Linked DNA regions of Homo sapiens: region 2 is linked to region 1. Evidence: promoter capture Hi-C in 16 types of primary human blood cells and fetal thymus (Javierre and others, 2016). All regions are on one chromosome and are shown on one strand. The core of a region is centred on a gene start or on the middle of the fragment in contact, and the rest is flanking DNA. Distances in the headings are between cores, read along the strand shown.

The links. Contacts are between HindIII fragments. The CHiCAGO score rates a contact against its expected background, and 5 or more counts as called.
Region 2: a fragment that was not itself captured here is called in contact with the fragment with the promoter of SRSF12 in region 1 in 1 of 17 cell types (neutrophils); the score reaches 5.2 in neutrophils.

Annotation. Positions count from the first base shown.
Region 1 is chr6:89,114,893-89,119,740 of GRCh38, reverse strand. SRSF12 (serine and arginine rich splicing factor 12) reads left to right here and starts at 1,670. Exons shown (of 5, transcript NM_080743.5): 1 at 1,670-1,918. The coding sequence starts at 1,854. It also overlaps a transcript of PM20D2 not described here. RefSeq lists a silencer at 1,817-2,086. The HindIII fragment of the contact is 10,924 bases long and covers 210-4,848 here.
Region 2 is chr6:89,358,023-89,363,097 of GRCh38, reverse strand. No RefSeq gene overlaps it. Among named protein-coding and RNA genes, the nearest start is that of UBE2J1, 7.8 kb to the right of the region's middle. The HindIII fragment of the contact is 6,763 bases long and covers 437-5,075 here.

The DNA of each region.
Region 1 (4,848 bases), core at 421-2,920:
AAACATGTGTGGGGCCACCAAAGACTGGAAGAAACAGAGGATTCCCCTAGAGTGCCTTCAGATAGATGATGGCCCTGCGGACACCTGGATTTCAGACTTCTGGCCTCTGAACTACAAGAGAATAAATTTCTGTTGTTTCGGGCCACCAAATCTGTGGTGCTTTGTCATGGCAGCCCTAGCCAACTAACACATGGTAAGCATTCTAAGCTTTTGTATTATGAATCCAGCCTGCTCTCCAGCCTCATTTTCCAACTCTTCTCCAGCCTCATGCTCCTGTTTTGCCTCATTTACTATATTGCCTCAAAGCCTTTGCACGTGCTGTTCCACTGCACTAATTACTCTTCTCCATTCTTTACCCATCTCTTCAAGACTTGTTCAGGGAACATAAGTGACCCTCTAGCCTTGCTCACCATCCCACAATGCCTGCTCTCAGCAGCATATAGTTCTTTTCATAGCCCTGTATTATAGTTTGTATCTTTACCAGTGTGATTGTTAGATTCTGCCTCCCTACCAAATTCTAAGCTCTAGGGGAATAGGCACGGTGCCAGTCTAGCCCTGTGCCTGCAGTGCCAGAGCAATCCCTTCTGAATGAAAGAATAGCCACCGTTCCAGTACAGCTGCAGACCCAGGAACCTCCACAGCCTCTGGGAGGGCTGTGAGCTAGAAGGGTGACCACGACATGTATTCTTCAAAGCCTACCACTTCTGCGAGCGAAAAGGGGCACTCTTCACACTTAGGAGTTGCCTGGTTACACTCCCAGCCCTGAATAACAGGCTGTGCCTGCCGGCCACAGGAGCAAGGCGAAGACGAGTCTAACTAGAAGGGGATGGGCTACAACATTTTGGGGGAATAGGGAGAGGGTAATTTAAATTTTGCTTAACTGTCCCTGCATTTAAACTGTTGTCTTCTACATCATGTATTCATTTGTACATTCGTTTGTCCCCCCTCTAGAATGTAAGCTCAGAGGGCGGGGCTTGGCCTGTTTGTTCATTGCTATATCCCACGCTAAGTGCCTGGCGCATAGTAGACGCTCAATAAACATCTGAATGAATGTACTCACAGCTGAGTGTTATGCCCCAAGTGAATAAAGGATGAAGAATCATATAATACTTAAAAATCCAACAGGCCAGGCGCGGTGGCTCACACCTGTAATCCCAGCACTTTGGAAGGCCGAGGCGGGAGAGGCTTGAGCCCAGGAGTTTGAGACCACCTGGGCAACACAGCGAGACCCCGTCTCTATTAAAAAAACAAATCCGAACAAAACCGAGACCTCACAGTTGGAAAGCCGAAGGCTCAAGACCAGAGGGGCAGGAGGCCTACCAACTGCCAAGGTCCTGCGCTCAGGACGATGCGCTGAGGGCCGCGGAGGCTGAGCGGGGGCGCGGTTGAAAGCGGCTCTCACTGACCCCACCTCCGCCCAGCCGCAGCCCCGCCACCACCTCTGGGTCCTCTAACCCCCGGCGTCCCCGCCGCGGCCTCAAGCCCCCTCTTGGCCTCCGCCCTCCTGACATACACTGGCCCTCGCCGCCCCCTCCCCAAATCCCGTCGCACTCCAGGACCCCCCATACCCGGATCCCATAGGGCCTGGGAACGGCCGCGCTCCTGTCTTCGGAATTCCCGCGGCCCCTGGGCCGCGCCGGCGCCGCCCCCGCCCCCGGCCCGTGCGTCCAGGCTGGCGCCGCGCTGCGCCCCCTCTGCGCCGGCCTCTGCGGCTGCGCGCTGGCGGGGCTGAGGCCGAGGGGTGGGGGTCGCGCCGGGGGCCGGCGGAGCTCCTGTGGTGGTAGCAGCGGTAGCGGGAGACGGAGCGAGTCCAGCGGCCGCGGGCAGACCCGGAGGGAACGGAGGAAGCGGTCATGTCTCGCTACACGAGGCCCCCCAACACCTCCCTGTTCATCAGGAACGTCGCGGACGCCACCAGGTGAACGGCCGCGGCTGCAGGTTGGGGGCGCGGAGGAGGGGCGGGGTAACAGCCGCGCCGCGGAGCACGGCCGAGGCCCGGCGGAGGCTCGGGGGAGCTGCGCGGAGCCTCCCCGCGGGCCCAGGCTGCGCCACTTGGGGAGGTGTGAGCCCTCGGACTACTCCGCGGCCCAGGGCGGAACTCGCGCCTCCGCCCTCCCGGCCAGCTTTCAGCCCCGGCGCCGCGCACATCGTGTCCCGGGCCCGCGTCGCTTTCCGCGGTTCAGCACCGCAGCCGGCGGGCCGTGGGACACGGGGCGCCCCTCTCCCGAGCTCAGGTCGCTCCCCGCCGGGAGTCGGGAGGGTTTGCGCTCCAGCGAGTGCCCGCGTTTCAGCTCCTTTGTCGCCGTGCCCCGATAAAATCGCGCGCATCCAACCCTCCTAGATGGAGAGGAATTGGGGCTGGTGAGAACGTTTTGTACCATAATGCGTACTCGGGCCTTACAGTTTCTTTCCCCCAGTTCTGGTCTACTTACAGACGGTGCTGCTTGCATTTTATTCACACAATTTTATTCTGCATACAAAAAATAACTTCAATGAATGAGATCAGTGCGTTTTTCTTTAAAGTTCTGAGTCCAGTATTAACACCCTTTTTAAGGGCGTGAGTATAGGCTCACCTGGTTGATTCTGATGCCCCACCCCTCCGTTGAGAATTTTGTCTACAGAGTGTCTGAACACAGATACTAAGGAATGACTTTTTCATATAGCACTTCCTTCCTTAATGGAGCTGAAGAAATTGGGGGCGGGGGGAGAGGGAACGGTGTTAATAGACATTCTCATTTCACTGGGCTTCATTTACTTCCCCCCAGCCTTTCTACCTATGCAGTACTGTTTTATTGTACATAAGGGAGAGCGGAAACTAAGAGTTTTAATGATTTACCTGGGGCCAGAGAGGTATAGATACATGGAGCTCTTGACTCCATAGTCATCTGAGATGAGTATTATAATTTACCTTTGAGGAGTAAATAAACGTTAAGTATTTTTTATTTTTTAGTTTTTTTTTTTTTTTTAGACAAAGTCTCGCTCTTGTCCCCCAGGCTGGAGTACAATGGCCCGATCTTGGTTGGCTGCAACCTCTGCCTCCCGGGTTCAAGCGATTCTCCTGCCTCAGCATCCAAAGTAGATGGGATTACAGGCGTGTGCCACCACACCCGGCTAATTTTTATATTTTTAGTAGAGATGAGGTTTCATTATGTTGGCCAGGCTGATCTCCAACTCCTGACCTCAAGTGATCCGCCCAGCTCGGCCTCCCAAAGCGCTGAGATTACAGGCATGAGCCACCGTGCCCGGCCAAGTATTTTTTATTTGATCACCGCAAGTACATGTATCACAACTATATGTTGTGGTTAATATATCTTAGTTAACATCTAAAAGGTGCCTTGTTTACATTTCTTCTGTCAGCCTTTTTATCAATATATTACATAGAAAACACGAACATAATTTATGATTTGGGCAGAATTAAAAAACCTTGCAGTTGAACAGACAACTTGAAAATGGAATAAGCATCAAGCCTCTTCAGGGTGTCTGTAGAAAAATCAGAGGTTTCCAATTCTAATGGTTCACAGGGGCCAGCCGGGGTAATATAAACGAGTGAAGCTGCCAGCCTATAAGGCACAGTAGGATGGTGTGGACTATCAAATAGAAATAGAATAGCAAATAGAAAAGGAAATATGCCATCTAAAAGGTGCAGCATCTGCCTCTAGGCTCCAGCTGACAGCTGCCATGTAGACATCTGGACTTATTGTTGATATATCTTACTAGTTGTAAAGAGAAATCAGAAATCTGGATTTTGTATGTGTAATCTTAGTCTTTAGATGCATTAAGTTGAATCATATGAAAATCCCATTCGTGGCCGGGTGCGGTGGCTCATGCCTGTAATCACAGCACTTTGGGAGGCTGAGGCAGGCGGATCACGAGGTCAGGAGATGGAAACCATCCTGGCTAGCACGATGAAACCCCGTCTCTACTAAAAATAAAAAAATTAGACGGGCGTGGTGGCGGGTGCCTGTAGTCCCAGCTGCTCAGGAGGCTGAGGCAGGATAATGGTGTGAACCCGGGAGGCGGAGCTTGCAGTGAGCCAACATCGCGCCACTGCACTCCAGCCTGGGAGACAGAGCGAGGACTCCGTCTCAAAAAAAAAAAAAAAAAAAAAAGAAAGAAAAAAGAAAACCCCATTTGTAGATTTGAAAGCTGTAAAATATAAGGCTGGGCGCGGTGGCTCACGCCTGTAATCCCAGCACTTTAGGAGACCGAGTTCGGCGGATCACTTGAGGTGAGGGGTTCGAGACCAACCTGGCCTACCTGGTGAAACCCCGTCTGTACTAAAACACAAAAATTAGCCAGGTGTGGTGGCTGGCGCCTGTAATCCCAGCTACTCAGGAGACTGAGGCACGAGAATCGCTTGAACCCCAGAGGTGGAGGTTGGCAGTGAGCCGAGATCAGGCCACTGCACTCCAGCCTGGGCGACAGAGTGAGACTCTGTCTCAAAAAATAAATAAATAAAAGAAAGCTATAAAATGTAGCCTGGTGTATGACACCTGTAGTCCCAATTACTGGGAAAGCTGAGGTGGGAGCCCGGGAGGTCACTTGAGCCCGGGAGGTCAAGGTTACAGTGAACGATGATCACATCACTGTACTCCAGCCTGGGTGACAGAGAGACCTTTAGAGAGTCTAAAAAAATAAAAGCTGTGGCCGGGCGTGGTGGCTCACGCCTATAATCCCAGCACTTTGGGAGGCCGAGGTGGGCAGATCACGAAATTAGGAGTTTGAGACCAGCCTGGCCAACATGGTAAAACACCGTCTCTACTAAAGATACAAAAAATTCACCAGGCATGGTGGTGCGTGCCTGTGATCCCAGCTACTCGGGAGGCGGAGACAGGAGAATCGCTTGAA
Region 2 (5,075 bases), core at 2,569-5,068, 240 kb before region 1:
GTTGCCCATGCTGGAGTGCAGTGGCATGATCCCAGCATACCATAACCTCAAACTCCTAGGCCCAAGTGATTCTCCTGCTTCAGCCTCCCAAGTAGCTAGGACTACAGGTGTGCACCACCACACCTGGCTAATTTTTGTTTGTTTTTTTGTAGAGATGGAATGTCGCTATGTTGCCCAGGCTGGTCTCAAACTCCTGGGCTCAAGTGATCCTCCCATCTTGGGCTCCCAAAGTGCTTGGATTATAGACATGAGCAACTGCATCGGACCTTTCAGTAGCTATTTAACCAGTGTCTCTCTACCCCATTCATCCATCCATCCATCCATCCATCCATCCATCCATCCATCCATCCATCCATCCATCCTTCATACAGACCCCGAGTGGCCTCTCTCAACCACCACAATTCTGACCTTCCTTGCTTCCTGACCTTCTTAAGCTTCCTTGCTTAACACCCTCCAGGTCTGAAGCTCTCCATGACTCCTAGATATCAGCCCAAACTCCTTAGCAGAGTTCACAAGACCCTGCTCCCTGGCCTTGCTGCATCTCCGGACTTGGTTTATTCTCCCTCAATGTGTTGAGGACAAGCATGACCAAAAGAGTGTGGGGTAAATAAAAGGAGCCATGAGTTTTGATTCTTTTGTCAATAATGATTGCTAAATCTCCTATGATGGTGTGACTTTCTGAGGGAAATTAACAATGTTCTTTTATCCAACAGATATTTATAGGGTTCCAATTATATTCCAGACTCTGTGCTAGAGAAATGGCTAAAAGGCAGATACTGGAGATGAAAGGATTTTAATATCTAAAAATAATGAAAAATAAACTAATTTTTGATAGGTCCTTATAGATGTCAGTTTTTAGAACTGCAGTTGTGTAGGACTTTACCACTGTGCGCAGCAGAGACCATGGATAATAACTAGCATCCAAGAAATTGAGTTGTTCAACCAATAGATCAATAGCTATATTTACTATTAATTTAATGTAAGACTAAATAGAAGAAGTAGGCTGTAAATTCGAAATGTTTATTGACATGTAGTGCTTTTCCTTGTAATTAAGAGGTGAATTATCTTAAAAGTAGGAAGTTTTAAATGTTATTTTAATATTCATACTTTTCCAGCTTAATACATGTATGACATCAATATCACTTCCAGAATTGGATTTAATAAAAAGTTTATTTGGCCGGGCGCGGTGGCTCACATCTGTAATCCCAGCACTTTGGGAGGCTGAGGTGGGCGGACCATGAGGTCAGGAGTTCAAGACCATCCTGGCCAACATAGTGAAACCCTGTCTCTACTAAAAATACACAAAATTAGCCCAGTGTGGTGGTGTGCGCCTGTAATCCCAGCTACTCAGGAGGGTGAGGCGGGAGAATCGTGTGAGCCCAGGAGGCAGAGGTTGCAGTGAGCCAATATCGCACCATTGCACTCCAGCCCAGGCGACAGTGCGAGACTCCATCTCAACAAACAAACAAACAAAAGTTTATTTTACTTTTCTACCCTTTTCAATCTGTTCGTACCAGGGAACTATTTATAAGAGTGTCGCCTAAGAATGTTTATATTCTCTTAACATGTCATCAGGAACAGTAGAATATGTGAGAAAAATCTGATGGTAAATGCAAAACTCTTTCACATCATTCAGAATTTTGAAAGGCTGGGTGATTTTAAAATGTGTCATACTTGTCCTAGAGGTCCTCAAAAGACCTACTTTTATCATAAATTACAGTTAAGTTCAGGCAGTGATCTTATTTCAGTTGTATCATCAGTATTTTGCAATAGTCCTGGGAAAGTGAAAATATAAGCTCTAGTAGTCTCGTTCATGATTTTAAGATACCAATTTGAAGTATCATATTATTCCAAGAAACAACTTAATTCCAGGATTTAAAAAAAAATCCAAAACAATATTGTTAGAACAGTGCAACAAATATTTACAAGTCAATAGTCTTTTCTTTGTAGAATATTACATTTATGGTTTCAATAAATGATTTAGCAGTTAAAGCTGAGATGAAGTGTGGTTCTCATATTCAATCTTGAAAAACTAAACCATCTTTAAAAAGTAGAACGTCCATGTGAACTCATGCCTGAAGCCATGTTTGAACGCTAGATAAAATTGCCCTGGGACAGAACTGTAGTTCACCTTTATGAAATCAATTTTAAACTTGTTATTGTGAGCCACAATAAATACAGTTCACATTGCAAACTATCACACACTCATACAAATGTTACTAAAAAAAACTTACCAAGTTATATCCTCTCTACATGCAATGCATTCTGGTATTTTCTCTTTCATTTGCTTTTTTTAAAAAGATCTCACAATCCACTAATGAGTCACAACCTGTGGTTTGTAAAGTAGTGTTAGAATGAACCCATTGGCCACATCAGAAATATCTAAGGATTTTCTTTCCAACCTAAAATCTTTTCCTTCTCTGTTAATTAAGAGATCTTAACAAATGGGAAATTCTGAGTAAGTTCCTGAATTTTTCTTTCATTTGATCATGGCCTTCTAGTGTTTACTAAAGTGGTTTTTCTTTTCACTGCCATCCTTGGGTATTTTTGTATGCTGGGTTGTATTACGGGTGAAGGGTTGATGGGGTTGTAGGCCTGAGAGGATCATTTTTATTACAGACTCTATCCTTGACTATAATATGATAGCGTTACATGGAGTTTAGTGACTCATGAGCTCATGTCTGACTCCTAAGGGGTCCTTTGTTAATTCAGATGACATTGGTCTTATCCGTTATCAAGAATCCATGAGTTTGGCTGGGTGTGGTGGTTCATGCCTGTAATCCTAGCACTTTGGGAGGCCGAGGCGGGTGGATCACAAAGTCAGGAGTTCAAGACCAGCCTGACCAACATGGTGAAACCCCGTCTCTACTAAAAATACAAAAATTAGCCAGGAGTGGTGGCACGCACCTATAATCCCAGCTACTCAGGAGGTTGAGGCAGGAGATTCGCTTGAACCCGGGAAGCAGAGGTTGCAGTGAGCCGAGATCGCGCCACTGGGCGCCAGCCTGGGCAACAGAGCGAGACTCCGTCTCAAAAAAAAAAAAAAAAAAAAAAAGAATCCATGAGTTTGCCCTTTTGTGCTATTTTGAAAGGGAGCTGATCCAGTGACTACACTCAGGAGGGTGGGGGCATTAACTGGTGTCCAGCTGCCTGAGACCTTGACCATCTTGCTTCCTCAATCTTTCCTAATAAGCTCCTGGGGCCAGCAGGGTTATTCTATTCTTCCAAAATTGAGAGTCATGAAACCAATCCCCCTCTCATGAAAGGCCAACTATGATAGAGCAATTTAAACCTCAGTCCCATGCTAACCCTCATCACCACGTGGAGAATTCCATTCCTACAAGCTGCTTTTGTTTGCCTTCTGCTTTCATTATTGCCTAAGTCCCTAAGAGGGCTGCTACTCAGTTTTCTCCCCTCTGGCTTTGCAGAGAGCTAAGCCCCATAGTACTCAACTTTCCTCACCTAGATAGCCAATAACTTGGAACTAATTCTGGCCTTCTCCCAGACTGCTTATAAGGTGGCCTTGGTAATTAGGCTTTTGTTTCTTTTCCCTGGGAAGCAGTGCAGTAAAGGGGGTGACTGCGGGAGACAGTCCTATGTATCTTTCCATCTCCGTAGGAGAGGAAGGAATTCACTTAGCTTTATAAGGTGCAAGAAACGGTGCCACCAATACACATAGTACTGTTTCATTTAATGCTCTAGGCCCATATTTTCCAAAGTTACCTGATTTTATGAATCATCTAGAGTGCTTAAGGATGCAGATTCCCAGCCCCATCCCGGTCTTCTTGAATCAGAATCTCCAGGGAGAAATACAGAAATCTGTATTTTTAAATAAGGACCCTAAACAATTCTTATAATTTGTGAGACACTGTTTTCTCTGTAGTTGTTTAAAGGGATAGGGAGGGGAAATGGTAGGGGATTAGGGTTGCAATCACCTAGGGGAGCTTTCTTGCATCCTCCATACCTACATACACATCAACACCCCAAGTGTTAGCATTTTTTCCAACTTGATTATGCAGCTTTAAGAGTTTATATTATTTAACCTATATTTCAAATGTAGACTTTTGTGAATGTAAATAATTTTAAGTCTATTTAAACCATTTATTGATTCAGTATTTAAATACTCATTTACATCTAATAGCACAAATTATGCAAATGGTACTAATTTAGAAAAATTGGTTTTTCCTCAAACAATTTTATTCAAATACTTCACATGCATCGTTTACAACTGGGTCTCTATCATCACTGAAACAACATTGTGAGTCCTCTAACAGTTCCCTCCTAGTTATCTAAGGTAGAGCATGCCTTACATTGAGTAGAATGCTGTCAGTGGAGATTTTACTACATCTCGAGAACCACTTGTTAAACATCAGGGTTTTTTTCCTACATATTCATAATCACCATAAATAAGTACTTCTTGTATTTCTCTGTTCAATAATTATTTAAAAGCCTACTTAATGATCTCCAATACTTGTTATCCAAAGTCATACCCTCAGGAATAATTAATCAATATGTCTTTGCCTTTTTTCCCCTGATTTTGCTAGGTGACCTTTATAAGACAGAAAATTGCCATTACTTGTGACCCTTTCACGACATATTGTCTTCCTGAAGAGTATTTTGTTCAAAAAGGACAAAGACAAAAACACAAGGTGACTCTCTTTTCTGAGGAATGATATTTTTGGAAAAATTTTGCTTTCCATTCTGCATATATGGTATATATTACTATTTAATAGCATCTGTACCCACCCCCTTTTTTTGCATAGAGACAGGGTCTCACCATGTTAGCCAGGCTGGTCTTGAATTTCTGGCCTCAAGCGATCCTCCCCTCCACCTCCACCTCCCAAAGTTTTAGGATTACAGGTATGAGCCATCGCGCCCAGCCAGCATCTGTACCTAGACCCAACTTGAATTCCCCAAAGAAGTTAAACTGGCTCCAGTATTTTCTCACAAGATGCTAGAAGGCAAATTGTGGCATACCTATACCTTCTGGTTGGTTAGTGCTGAAAAAAGTACAGGACTACTTTTGAGAAGTTGACGATGTGGTTATCATTCAAAGTTTGCCTATAATTGTAACT